Linked DNA regions of Homo sapiens: region 1 is linked to region 2. The links are contacts of gene promoters, found by promoter capture Hi-C in human tissues and cell types (Jung and others, 2019). All regions are on one chromosome and are shown on one strand. Each heading gives the region's core, a stretch centred on a gene start or on the middle of the fragment in contact. The rest is flanking DNA. Distances are from core to core; before and after follow the strand shown.

Evidence for each region. Contacts are between HindIII fragments. The study calls those that stand out against the background at their distance.
Region 1: a fragment that was not itself captured here is called in contact with the fragment with the promoter of CBS in region 2 in 5 of the 25 tissues and cell types used here (adrenal gland, dorsolateral prefrontal cortex, mesenchymal stem cells and 2 more).

What each region holds. Positions count from the first base shown.
Region 1 is chr21:42,934,826-42,942,059 of GRCh38, reverse strand. LOC124905022 (a long non-coding RNA gene) reads right to left here. Exons shown (of 2, transcript XR_007067881.1): 2 at 5,095-7,234. Among named protein-coding and RNA genes, the nearest start is that of MIR5692B, 13 kb to the left of the region's middle. RefSeq lists enhancers at 3,316-3,974, 3,975-4,632, 4,633-5,291. The HindIII fragment of the contact is 5,282 bases long and covers 1-4,591 here.
Region 2 is chr21:43,073,489-43,080,745 of GRCh38, reverse strand. It overlaps CBS (cystathionine beta-synthase), which reads left to right and starts at 4,911. Exons shown (of 17, transcript NM_000071.3): 1 at 4,911-4,976. RefSeq lists a silencer at 399-570. The HindIII fragment of the contact is 35,360 bases long and covers 1-7,257 here.

The sequences.
Region 1 (7,234 bases), core at 701-3,200, 140 kb after region 2:
CATGCACCACCATGCCTGGTTAACTTTTAAATTTTTGTAGAGATGAGATCTCGCCATGTTGTGCAGGCTGGTCTCAAATTCCTGGGCTCAACGGATCCTCCTGCCTCCACCTTCCAAAGTGCTAAGATTATAGGCTTGAGCCACCGTGCCCATCCGGCACCAGTGTTTACCTGTGACAAAGCCACACCCAGACCCTCTACCTTCCCGCTCTTTGTCTCATGAATGAGTAATGAAACCATCCAGGCACAGAGACAAACCTCCTATTTGGTGGACCCGCTGAGATGCCCTGATTGCAAAACAACCATACCTGGAAATTGTCCTACCTATAACTTTTTGTGTGTGTGTGAGACAGTTTCACTCTTGTTGCCCAGGCTGAAGTGCAATAGTGCGATCTCGGCCCACCACAACCTCCGCCTCCCGGGATCAAGCAATTCTCCTGCTTCAGTCTCCCGAGTAGCTGGGACTACTGGCATGCACCGCCACACCCGGCTAATTTTGTACTTTTTAGTAGAGACAGGGTTTCTCCATGTTGGTCAGGCTGGTCTCGAACTCCTGACCTCAGGTGATCCGCCTGCCTTGGGCTCCCAAAGTGCTGGGATTATAGGCATGAGCCACCGCGCCCGGCCCTAGCCGGCTTCTTTACTGCAACCTGTTTTATCAGCAAGGTCTTTATGACCAGTGTCTTGTGCGAACTTCCTATCTCATCTTGTGACTTAGAATGCCTTAACCATCTGGGAATGCAGCCCCGGGAGGTCTCAGCCTCACTTTACCCAGCCCCTATTCAAGATTGAGTTGCTGTGGTTCACACGCCCCTGACACTCAAACACGTGCATTCAGACACTCACACGAGCAGGTGAGCGGCTTTGTGACACGCTGGCTGGAGAATTCCCTCTCCAAATCACAGTTCTGTTCTCAACCTTTTGTGCATAGGCCACTCTGATTTGCTCCCTGACTGCCAACCCCCGCCAAGAAAAACAGACTTTGGGCTGGGTGCGGTGGCTCACACATGTAATCTCAGCACTTTGGGAGGCCAAGGCAGGTGGATCACCTCAGGTTAGGAGTTTGAGACCAGCCTGGCCAACATGGTGAAGCCCCATCTCTACTAAAAATACAAATATTAGCTGGTTGTGGTGGCGGGCACCTGTAGTCCCAGCTACTGGGGAGGCTGAGGCAGGAGAATCCCTTGAACCTGGGAGGTGGAAGCTGCAGTGAGCCAGCATCATACCATTGCACTCCAGCTTCGGTGACACAGTGAGACTGCATGTCAAAAAACAAAAACAGGGTCGGGTGTGGTGGCTCACACCTGTAATTCCAGCACTTTGGGAGGCCGAGGCTGGCAATCACCTGAAGTCGGGAGTTTGAGACCAGCCTGACCAACATGGAGAAACCCCATCTCTGCTAAAAATACAAAATTAGCCAGGTGTGGTGGCGCGTGCCTGTAATCCCAGCTACTCGGGAGGCTGAGGCAGGAGAAGTGCTTGAAGCTGGGAGGCGGAGGTTGTGGTGAGCCAAGATAGTGCCACTGCACTCCAGCCTGGGCGACAGAGTGAAACTCCATCTCAAACAAAAACAAAAACAAGACTTTGTAAATAGAAAGATGTAAAGAAAGATAAGAATTTTGAGGCTGATACATTTCACATGCCCGGGGCTCTGTATTCTTTCTTCCTGGGCTCCTTCCCCATCCCCTGGATCGTCTTGTCATCATCGCCCCTGCTCACAGTGAACGATTTCCTCACTGGGAATTTCACAAGAACTGTAGACGCTGCCAGAATTCTTTGGCACAAAACTCCTCTGAGTCAGAGCCTAACGCTGTTAGCAAGGGAAGAACAGCTGCAAGGGCCACACATCTGTGAGTCTTTTGAGAATTTTATGATGAATAAAAACTATCCGTTACACAGACTCATACATTATATATTAACCTAACATGTCTTCAATTGCACTGCTAACCGTCTCTTTTCATACTTTTTTCTAACGACACCCCAATCCCAACAATAAATTAAAAAATCTGAAACTTTGACTATCTAGTAGCACTGCATGCCGTTTCCTAGTCGTATTCCTATTCCGCCTTTGGAGTAGCCATTCCCTTATTCCTTTACTTTCTTAATAAACTTGGTTTCGCTTTACAGACTGGCCCTGAATTCTTTTTGGCACGAGATCTAAGAACCCTCTTTTGGGGTCTGGATCTGGACCCCTTTCCTGTAACATAAGGGTCCCTTCACTGCGCTTGTGACATCCCAGGATCACCCTGGCCTCTAGGCAGTGTAGCTCCAGCTGGGCTGAGTGGAAGAGCCACCCAACGTGTTCAGTTTTACAAGAAGAATCATAAATAGAGCATTCACCAAAGGGGCAGAAGAGAAGCGGAAACCCTCAGGGTGCTGAGATTGTGGAAAGAGAATGATGCACTTAAATAACTGAAAGGTTGAAAAAAGTATGAAGAGCATCAAAAGATGCTGGAAAATACACCTTAAAAATACTGTGACCGGGGGCGGTGGCTCACGCCTGCAATCCCAGCACTTTGGGAGGCCGAGGTGGGTGGATCACCTGAGGTCGGGAGTTCAAGACCAGCCTGGCCAACATGGAGAAATCCCATCTCTACTAAAAATACAAAAAAATCAGCCAAGCTTGATGGCGCATGCTTGTAATCCCAGCTACTCGGGAGGCTGAAGCAGGAGAATCGCTTGAACCCGGGAGGCAGAGGTTGCAGTGAGCTGAGATCGCACCATTGCACTCCAGCCTCGGCAATAAGAGCAAAATTCCGTCTCAAAAAAAAAAAAAAAAAAAAAAAAAACAAGAAACAAAAAACCAAAGAAAACTTCAAGCCCCATGAGCTGGCTTAGGCTGACTCCCGCAAGTAGATGCCTTAGTTTGCAACCCGTCTGGTGACACAATTAGGATTTTTAAAGTGCTCAGTGGCACAAGGAAAAGGGAGGAAGGGTGGAAACTCAAAGCCATGAGAAAGACAACAGCCTGGGCTGGCGCGGTGGCTCACGCCTGAAATCTCAGCACTTTGGGAAGCTGAGGTAGGAAGATCACTTGAGGTCAAGAGTTTGTGACCAGTCTGGCCAAGATGGTGAAACCCTATCTCTAGCAAAAAATACAAAAATGAGCTGGGCGTGGTGGTGCACGCCTGTGGTCCCATCTACTTGGGAGGCTGAGGTGGGAGAATCGCTTGAACCCGGGAGGTGGAGGTTGCAGTGAGCCATGGTCACGCCACTGCACTCCAGCCTGGGGGACAGAGTGAGACCCTGTCTCAAAAAAATGAAAGACAAGTGCCTGCTTTTAAGTACAACTCAGGCCAAGGAAGGGCTCCTCCATGCAGAGGATCCTCACTGACAGCAGCAGGTAAACATTGCACCTGTGTCCTGCAGAGGCCCTCGGAGTCCCCCCTCCCTTTCCTCAGATAGGAAGGTTCAGATTCCCAGGGCTTAGGTCAGTTTGCAGAAATGTCTTTTCCCCCCTTTCTTTTTTTCCATAAACTCCATAGTTTAAAGCTTCTTTCCTGGAAAATAGCTGTCGGTGCCATGAAACTTTGCCTGTTGCACTAGAACGTCCTTTCTAGAATTTCTCCCTTACTCCGGCAGCAGCGACTTTCCATATGTCCTGGAGAAGAGAGTGTTTTACCTTGGCTTCCTCTCATTGGCTCAGGGCCGAGGATGATATATTTTAAGCCGTACATTTAAAAATAAAAGTCTTGGCAAGGGTTCTGATGAACTAAAACCATCAAGACATACTCGTTAGCTTAGGCTCCCATCCGCTTGGATTTCATAAGATTTCAAAGCCAATGCTGGAAAGAGAAAAAGAAGGCCGGGCATGGTGGCTCGTGGCTGTAATCCCAGCGCTTTGGGAGGCAGAGGCAGGAAGATCACTTGAGCCCAGCAGTTGGAGACCAGCCTGGGCAATATAGCTAGACTCTGTCTCAACAACAACAAAATTAGTCGGGCGTGGTGGCACGTGCCTGTAGTCCCAGTTACTCGGGAGGCTAAGGCACGGGAACCTTGAAAATTTGAGGCAGGCCTCAGTTAATTTAGAAAGTTTATTTTGCGAAGGTTGAGTACGCACCCGCGACACAGCTTCAGGAGGTCCTGACAACACGTGCCCAGGGTGGTCGGGGCACAGTTTGGTTTTATACATTTTAGGGAGACGTGAGACATCAATCAATATAGGTAAGAAGTACATTGGTTCGGTCTGGAAGGCAGGACAACCTGAAGCAAAGGCAGGAAGACAGGAAGCGGGGAGGGGGCTTGCAGGTCACAGGTAGGAGACAGACAAATGGTTGCATTCTTTTGAGTTTCTGATTAGTCTTTTCAAAGGAGGCCATCAGACATGCATTTACCTCAGTGAGCAGAGGGGTGACTTTGAATAGAATGGGAGGCAGGTTGGCCCTAAGCAGTTTCCAGCTTCACTTTTCCCTTTAGCTTAGTGATTTGGGGTGGGGGCAGGGGCAAGATTTGTTTTCCTTTCACAGGCAGGAGAATCACTGGAGCTCAGGAGTTTGAGATTGTAGTGAGCTGTTTTAGCAGGATGAGCTGTGGACAAAACCCCTCAGACACCAAGATAGTGAAGGGAGTGGCTGTAATCAGCTGGGAGCATGGGCAGGCTAGCGTCTTAAAATCCGAGCTCCTCAGTGCTCAACTTCTGTCCCTTTTAAGGGCTCACAACTCTAAGGGGGTCCGTGTGAGAGGGTCGTGATCGATTGAGCAAGCCAGGGGGTATGTGACGGGGGCTGCGAGCACCGGTGGTCAGAGTGAAAAAGAACAGAACGGGAGGTTTCACAATGTCCTTCCACACAATGTCTGGAATCTATAGATAACATCAGTTCCTAGGTCAGGGGTCGAATTTTAACTACCAGGCTTAGGTCAGGCAGGCCCAGGCCTGGTTTCGGGTCTGCTTCCTAGGCGCCGGGCTACCTGCCTTTAGTTTCACTTCTCTTTTTCTGAGTATAGAACAATATAAAACAATATGAGAGGGTCTCTCTCTTACCTCATTCCCCTGCTTTGAGACTCTCACTTTTTATTAGTGGGAGTTCTCACTCTTATCTTTGCCACTTATGTCTTCTTGTTGTTGTACCTGAGCGAGTTAGAGAAAACGCCACACTTTGAGACGAATTAAGAGTCCGTTTATTTAGCCTGCGGCCAAGAGATGGCTAATGCTCAAAGTTCTCTTGGCCCCGAAGAAGGGGCTAGATTTTCTTTTATACTTTGGTTTAGAAAGGGGAGGGGGGGTCTAGTTAAAACAATTTTACAGAAGTAAAGTAGGCAAAAAAGTTAAAAGGATAAATGGTTACAGGAAAGTAAACAGTTCCAGGTGCAGGGGCTTTAAGACTATTACAAGATGATAGTCTTGGCTTTGGGCGTTATCAATCAGACGAATTCCTGGGAACTGCGGATATAGCTCGCCACAGTATCTTATCAGTTAACTGCATTCTTGGATGTGCTGGGAGTCAGCTTGCACAAGTTAAGTCCTTGAGGAAGGGGCTGCCAGGGAAAGAGCCAAGATGGAGTCTGTCTGGCTCTCTCAGCTAAGGGAGAGTCCATTCAGGTGGAAATGAGGCTAGGTGAGTAAAGGAAAGGGAGAGTCTAAGAACAGGGTTAGTAAGAACAAGGTTGGGCATTACATTGTACAATAGATTGCTAGTGATTCATATAGTACACTTGTGCTGATGCATTTTGGTGAACTAAGGTAGCGATGAAGCTTTTTATCATTTGAAGAGGTACAGGTAGCAAATAAGGGAGCAGTAAGCAGGTTTCTGTTACTATTATAACTCCTATTATAAGAGTTTTAAATCCTTCTAGTGCTGGGAACCACCTGGCTCCAGGGCCGAATCCGTGTTACACTTGCAAGGGCACATGTGCCAGTTTTGTCATATTTCTAACTATGTCTTTAACTACTTGTCTTTAATTATCTATGTGTACACAGTAATTAGTAAGGTTAAATTTCTTGTAGACCTCTCTTTCGCCTGCTAGCAAGTAGTCGATCTATTGATCGATGGCAAGTAGCTGCTAGCCAGTGTATTTTGATAGATAGCAGTTCTTCTCCGAGTTTCTTGCTGGGCCAGAACAGTCAAGGCTTGACCGGTTTTATTAGTGATGATTTCTAAAACAGCTTGCAACTGTATGATTTCGTTGAGCATGTAAATGGGGGTCCGGTATCCCCATGACCTGTGTTATGTCTAAGTGGCAGGCCTATAGTATCGTATAATTTTTTTTTTTTTTTTTTTTGAGACGGAGTCTCGCTCTGTCACCCAGGCTGGAGTGCAGTGGTGTGATCTCGGCTCACTGCAAGCTCCGCCTCCCGGGTTCACGCCATTCTCCTGCCTCAGCCTCCTGAGTAGCTGGGACTACAGGCGCCCACAATCATGAGTATTGTATAATTTTTTTAGGAGGCCATTCATCATCTTTTTAATTATCTATGGCTATGTTTCACTTTTTGCAGGAGGCATAGACAGGGAAGCCCAGGAGTTCACCTGTTCTTATGGGCAGTAGGAAGAAAGATGGTTTAATAGTGCCAATAACACAACTACCTGTCCACTGGTCAGGCAGCTTAGCATGGGCTGGATGTCTACATATCTAGTATAGCCCAGTGGGGGCCTCCAGCCCCAGTGGGATTCTGGGGGGGCCCAAACAGTCAGCAACTTTGGAAATTTACTGAATGGATTTTTATCTGTATGGCTTGAACTCCACATGTAACTGTTTTTGTGGTACCATTATACAGTTTTTGTCCAAGGCAACTAAGTCATCCTACAGAATGAGTGAATTCTTTCCTTTTTTAAACTATGCAATATTTTCTAATAATTGAGACTTTTAGAACCTAGAAATGATCAAGGTGATTTCTTTTGGGCCGGGAATTCATCAGGAACTGGGTCTGTAGGCACTAATTCTCAGGCTTCTTATGGCCATTGATCTCCTATTACAGTTTCTCCACAAACATAACATGAAGTGACATTTAGAGACTGGGCTACATGCTTGGCTAATTGCAAAAATGATTTCTGGTTTTTCCTGGAGTCTCTGGTACTGGCACATTTAGTTCATCATAGAAAGTCTGAAATACTGGTTCTAGAGAGAGTTTATGAACCTCCTCTTTTACTACGATATTTACTCTAGGATCTAGTCCTTTTCTATCCATGCCCAGAGATATGTGTTCTCTTTTTTTCTACCTTGGGTTTAAGGGATTTGTAATTACTAATTTTAAGGGGTTGCAGCTTCCACTCATACAGGCGGGGCTGCCTTCTCCTTTT
Region 2 (7,257 bases), core at 3,662-6,161:
CAGCAGACTCGCCCCTCAAGTCAAAAGGAATAAATGTAACCAAAGAAGTGTGAGACTTACATACCCCAAATCCCAAAACACCACTGAAAGAAATTAAAGATCCAAGCTCCTCCTGGACGCCTGGGCTCAGGAACCCTCCCCTCAGAACGATCTTGGCCACCGACCTACACAAATCCTCCCCTCCTCTCATACCCAAAGGGCATTGTTGCTATAGTGCCAGCCCTTCAGCCCCTCGGATGCTCCAGCTCCTTATTCTAGAACTCTCCATCGGCAGTTCTTTCTCTCCAGTGACGCTGCCTGTCCATGGACCCACCAGCTTTTCACTGTCCCTGCCGCCTGCTGCCCATCCTTCCCGCCCCACCCAGCGCAGATCCCTGCAAACAAACGCAGCTCAGCCTCCCGTCTGTGCCGTCTCCCACCAACACACTCAGACAAAACTTCACTCTCACACGTAACCCAGCCTGCAAACAGCCCCAGTCCCGGTGGCTCCCAGCAAAGGGCATTTTGTTCTTCCCCTGCCGGGCTCTGCAGGGCTGGGCCCCGGGCTGCAGGTTGAGGTCAGGGCCGCTGTCCCTGAGGTCTCAGCTGCAAACAGGCACACTCCCTTCTGCTGTGTGTCCCAAGGGGTGAAGCAAACCACGGCTCAGCCCAAATCCAAAGGGTGGGTAAGTTTCCGCCACTGCCGTGACTTGGGCAGGGAGAGAGAATCTCGTAAACACACACGACCATCTCCAGCGCTCTTCCCCTGCCCTGCCACGCGGGCCACTCACCGCAGCCAGAGAAAAGCACAGCCGTGCTGCCAGGGGCCTGGGAAACTTGTGAATGGAAATTCGCAGGAGCCCTCAGTGCTGCCCACCTCTCCTCCTTCCCTTCCTCTTCCTCCTCCTTCCCTTCCTCTTCCTCCTCCTTCCCTTCCTCTTCCTCCTCCTCCTCCTCCAATCTCCTCCAGTTCTGAGGGCCCAGCCTTCCGGCCACCAGGGGATGGTGCAGGCCCAGGCCTCTCCCCTCTGCTCGCCCCCCAGTGGGGTAGCGGTTTATCCTCTGTCCACTCATGACATGTGCACTTTCTGCATACGTGTTATACTCTGAACAAAAGTAACAACAACAAAACCCTCCATCAGCTCGGCCTCGCTGTCCACTTGCTGCTGACCAGCTGTCAGGCCTATTCCTTTGAAGAAACAGAGGTGATTAGAAGGAAGCTCTTCCACCTTGTCCACAGGACGCCAGCATTCCTGCATCTCTGGCTCTGAGCTCCTTCCCAGTACAATGTGGTGGGCCAGGCCCTCCTGGGGGCTCTGCTCCTGCAGTGCCTCCTCTCATGTAGGCAGACACAGAAATGAGGCAGAGGCTAGAAAATGATGAGGGCCGGGGAGATGTGTTTTTCTTTTTTCTTTTTTTCTTTTTTTTTTTTTTTGAGATGGAGTTTCGCTCTTGTTGCCCAGGCTGGAGTGTAGTGGCGCGATCTCAGCTCACTGCAACCTCCACCTCCCAAGTTCAGGCGATTCTCCTGCTCCAGCCTCCCGAGTAGCTGGGATTACAGGTGCCTGCCACCACAACCAGCTGTATTTTTTCTTTCTTTCTTTCTTTCTTTCTTTTTTTTTTGTATTTTTAGTAGAGACGGGGTTTCACCATGTTGGCTAGGGTGGTCTCGAACTCCTGACCTCAGGCGATCCACCCGCCTTGGCCTCCCAAAGTGCTGGGATTACAGGCGTGAGCCATTGCGCTGGCCAGTTTTTGTATTTTTAGTAGAGACTAGAGACGGGGTTTTGCTATGTTGACCAGGCTGATCTCAAACTCCGGACCTCAGGTGATCCTCCCACCTTGGCCTCCCAAAGTGCTGGGATTACAGGTGTGAGCCACCCCACTTGGCCATTCGTGCACTTTCAGTGGTCAGGTGTAGCTTTTTCATTTTAAAATAGGACCTACGGCTCACATTGATATAACTAAGTGAATAAATAAATGAGGGAGAAGGAAAACTCTAATAATGGAATGCCAAATGGTACATGGAGGAGTGATGGGCTTAGAAAAACCACTATTCAGCAACCATTTTATTTTATTTTATTTTACTTATTTATTTACTTTTTTTTTTTTTTGAGACGGAGTCTTGCTCTGTCGCCAGGCTGGAGTGCAATGACACAATCTCAGCTCACTGCAACCTCCGAGTCCTTGGTTCAAGTGATTCTCCTGCCTCAGTCTCCCGAGTAGCTGGGATTACAGGCACGCACCACCATGCCCAGCTAATTTTTGTATTTTTAGTAGAGGCGAGGTTTCACCATGTTGGCCAGGATGGTCTCAATCTCTTGACCTCGTGATGCGCCCGCCTCAGCCTCCCAAAGTGCTGGGATTACAGGTGTGAGCCACAGCTCAGCAACCATTTTAATAAAAATCAATTCAGACAAAATCATCAGTAAGTGTTAAAACTAGAGAGTGGGCTGGCTGCAGTGGCTTACCCCTGTAATCCCAGCACTTTGGGAGGCCGAGGCAGGTGGATCACCTGAGGCCACGAGTTCGAGACCAGCCTGTCCAACATGGTGAAACCCCGTCTCTACTTAAAAAAAAATACAAAAAATAGCCAGGTGTGGTGGCAGGCACCCGTAATCCCAGCTACTTGGGAGGCTGAGGCAGAAGAATCGCTTGAACCCGGGAGAGGGAGGTTGCAGTGAGCCGAAATCACACCACTGCACTCCAGCGTGGGGGGGAGGTTGCAGTGAGCTGAAATCACACCACTGCACTCCAGCGTGGGTGACAGAGAAAGATTCTGTCTCAAAAAGAAACAAAACAAAACAAAATAACAAGTTAGAGAAACCAGATAGACTGAGTGACAGATTCATACACACCTGCACACGTGTGTGTGTGTGTGTGTGTGTGTGTGTGTGTGTGGAGAGACAGAGAGGGAGCAAATGTAGTAAAAACTTAACATTTGAAATAACAATGAGTTTCTGATAATAGAAGCAAAAAAAATTAATATTTGGAAAATCTGGATGAGGGAATATGACATTCTGTATGGTTCTTGCCACTTTTCTAATCTAAAATTACGTTAAAATTTCTAAAAAATTAAAAAGTATTTGGGCTGTGTAACAAATTACTGCAAACTTGAGTGGTTTAAAACAACACACATTGGGCTGGGCGCGGTGGCTCACTCCTGTGAGCCTAGCACTTTTGGGAGGCCGAGGCGGATGGATCACCTGATGTTAGGGGTTCGAGACCAGCTTGGTCAACATGATGAAACCCCGTCTCTACTAAAAATACAAAAATTAGCCTGGCATGGTGGTGCGTGCCTGTAATCCCAGCTACTCGGGTGGCTGAGGCAGGAGAATCGCTTGAACCCGGGAGGCTGAGGCTGCAGTGAGCCAAGATCTCACCATTGCACTCCAGCCTGTGTGACACAGACTCTGTCTCAAACAACAACAACAAAAACAACACCGTTTATCATCTTTCTCTCCCGCAGGCTGGCTGAAGGCTCTGAGGGAGGCCCTGGCCACCTTTCCCAGCCCTGTGGAGGCCGCCAGCCATCCCTGCCATTTCTCGTCTGGTGGCAGCACATCTCATCTCTGCCGCCATCTCCACATGGCCTTTTTCTCTCCGCGTGTCTGTGTCCACGTCTCTCTTCTTATAAAGACTGGACAGGATTTTTTTTTTTTTTTTTTTTTTTTTTTTTTTTTCTGGAGACAGTCTCGCTCAGTCGCACAGGCTGGAGGACAGTGGCGCGATCCCGGCCTCCAATGCCACCTTCCAGAGCCTTCATGATGTAACTCCATCCCTGTCCCCTCCCCACATCGCCGGCTTTATTGTTCTTCGTGTCAGTTCCTGCCAGTGGACATTTAATTCTAATTCACGTCTCACTCCCTCCCCTACTGTGAGCCCCACGTGGCAGAGACCGCGGCGGAGCTGCGCGGGCCGGAGGAGGCTGCGGAGCATCGCTCTGACCTGAGCCGGGGACGCTGCGGAGGCGCAGCACGTTCCTCTGCCCAGAGCTGATGGGCACCGTCCGTGTCTTTCGCTGCAGGTCCGGGGGGAGACTCGGGGGCCTGGGATCCCCCATTTAGCCATAGGGCGGGGGGATCAGGTTCAGCCTCTGAAAGTCCAGAGCACGATGTTTGGGAAACGGCCCCGCCCGCGGCCTCCGGGACCTGGCGAAGGAGCCCCGCGGGGCGCCCCTGCTACCACCCTGCGCGGAGTCGGCCCCGTCCCCGAGAGCGCCCGGCAGCCCCTGGCCGTGGGCCGCACCGGAGCCGCGCAAGGCGACTGTTCTGCGCCTCGGCTCGGGGTTCGGACCCGGCTCTGGGCGCGGTCACGCGGGGCGCTGCGCACGGCGTCCGGCGGCCACAGAGCGCGGCCATCGAGTCCCGCCCCGGCGCGGCGCCCCCTCCCGGGCCCGCGACACACGCCCTCGGGGTCGGTCCTCGAGGACGCGCAGGGCCCCCCACCCACCAGGACGCACGTTTCAAGCTCATCAGTAAAGGTTCCTTAAATTCCCGAAGGGCAAGAAGTTAACCAAGTAAAACAGCATCGGAACACCAGGTAGAAGACACCACCGGGGTCCGCGGGTGGGGGTGGCTGGAACCCGGGGCGGGCGGGCTCAGGCGAAGAGGAAGGCGGGGGAGGGGGCGGCGACCCGGGTCTGCGGTTGAATCAACAGGGCGTGGGAATGGGGCGGGCGGACTGGGGTGGGGGCATGCCGGGGTCCCGGGGAGGGCGGGGGTCGGGCAGGCCGGAGGGTCCCAGGCTGCGGCGGGGTGGGGAAGGGGTGGGGGGGAGGGGCCCGGGCTGGGTGGGGTGGAGGAGGGGCTGGGGGGGCGGGTGCTCTGCCACGAGACATTGGCCGGCGCCGGCCTCCGCCCCCGCCTCTCCGCCAATCACCGCCCGCCTGCTCCCCTCGCCGTGGGTCCCCGCGAGGCCGCCACCCCGGGGTCGCCGTCTCCGCCTCGCCGCAGTCGGGGCAGCCGCTCGCCCCTCTTTTCCATGTATCCGTCCAGGTGAGATCCGGCCCCACCGAGACTCGCTCCCCTCTCTGGACAGAGGATCTCAACTGGGTCCCGGTTTCCCTCTCCGCGCCTCCGCCCAGAGTTGCATCATCTGCACCGAAAGGCGGCGAGACAGGGTCTCCCAAGACCCCCGCCCCACCGGCGCCCACGCCTGCGGTCTTGACCGCCCAGAAGATGGGGGCTGGCCGTGCACGTGGCCCCGGGCTCCCACCCCAGCCCCCGCGCCGGCGGAGTGGACCCCACTGGCGGCGAGTCCTGGAGCGTGGAGCAGGGACGCGGGGTGGGAATCCGGGGGAGATGCACGTTTCGGTGCCCAGCATTGAGTTCGCTGCATTGTGGATGGGAAATGGCTGTTTGCAAATCGCCCTTTTTGGCGGACCGTGTGGGGTGGCGGTAAACGCTGTCGTTGCGCGGGCGGCACGCGAGGTGGGTGCCCGCTGGGGGAGGGACGCGGGGCTCTGCCCAGGTTGCGTTCGGGGGATGGAGGTTTTCCTGGGACCTCACTTCCCTGAGCCCCAGGCGAGACCGCAGCTGAGCTGTAGGATGCAAGCGGGAGGCGGAGCGTGGGTGGGAGAGCGGAGCGCGAAATTCTCGGCTTCCCGAGGATCTTCTGGGCTTACTTGTCCCCAGCTTTGTCCCAAAGTGTCGCTTCCGGAGGCGGAGTGGCCGGCGGTTTCCGGGTCTCAGTAGGGTCTGGATCTCCCACCTGGAAACCTAGAGGAGTTTCCCGCTCTCCGTGCGCGTGGCCTTCCCCAGGCCCCTCCGGGAGTGCTGGCGCGCGAGTGCAGGGGTGCCCCGGGAACGTCGTGACCCCAAGGGGGTCTTGTGGTTTAAGGAGCGAACGGAACCGGCCAGGCGATGCCAGCTGAACCCGCCTTCCCGGGACGCACGTGCATCCGGCCGCCCGGCGCTGTTGTCTTGGGGAGCCCGCGGGTTCGGGTCTGGGTCGCCTGGCGAGCTTTCCGCCGAGCGCCTCTGAGTTCTACAGAGCCCCGACGGCTTGCGATCTGCGTTCCCGGCAGTCCCTTACCTTGCGAGAGAGGGCTCCAGGGCGAGGCGAGGGGCCAAAAGCAAGGCGCTGGGCCGCCTGCGTCTGCCGGGGCCTCGGGTCCACGGCTTTCTGGAAGATTCGGCGGCGGAGCATGCGCGCCCCAGGCCAGACAGGGCCTGTGCCAGACGGAGAGTCCCTTCCCGTAGGTGACTCCCGCGACCCGCGGAGGAAGGTGCTGCTCCGCTCACGGCGGCGGCTTCTTACAAGGTTGGGATAGAAAGAAAAGCGTGGGACACGAACCTCTGAAAGCGGGTGCATTTTTCTGGGGAAGAGAAGATCCAACGCCTTCGGATTTTCAGACAAGTCCGTGGTCCCAAGACCTTGAAAGCACCACCCTCCAGGGTCGTTTGAAGCCGCTTTGGCCCCCAGTCTGGTGAATTGCAAAGGTGGAGGGGAGGCTGGGAAGTCCAGGAGGCCAAGCTGAGGCCTGGGTAGGGCCTGTGCGCAGAGACCACCTGAACAGCATACTCCAAGGGCTTCCAAAGGCAGCCGGCTTCCGCAACTTTTTCTTTTTTAATAGGCTTTTTAAAAAAAAAGCAGTTTTAGGCCGGGCGGGGTGGCTCACTCCTATAATCCCAGCACTTTGAGAGGCTAGGCGGGCGAATCACCTGAGGTCAGGAGTTCGAGACCAGCCTGGCCAACATGGTGAAACTTCGTCTCTACTAAAAATACAAAAATTAGCCGGATGTGGTGGCGGGCGTCTGTAATCCTACTCAGGAGGCTGAGACAGGAGAACTGCTTGAACCCGGGAGGTGGAGGTTGCAGTGAGCCGAGATCGCACCACTGCTCCAGCCTGGGCAACAAGAGGGAGACTCCGTCTCGAAAATTTAAAAAAGAGCAGTTTTAGATTTAGAAAAATTGAAAAAATAGATAGAGTTCCCCCAGTTTCCCCTGTTATTAAGATCTTAAACTGATGTCGTATATTTGTTACTTTATTTATTTTCTTTTATTTTTATTTTTATTTTTATTTTTTGAGACGGAGTCTCGCTCTGTTGCCAGGCTGGAGTGCAGTGGCGCGATCTCGGCTCACTGACCTCCCCCTCCCGGGTTCAAGCGATTCTCCTGCCTCAGCTTCCCGAGTAGCTGGGACTACAGGTGTGCGCCACCATGCTTGGCTAATTTTTGTAGTTTTAGTAGAAACGGGGTTTCACCATGTTGGCCAGGATGGTCTCGATCTCTTGACCTCATGATCCGCCCGCCTCGGCCTCCCAAAGTGCTGGG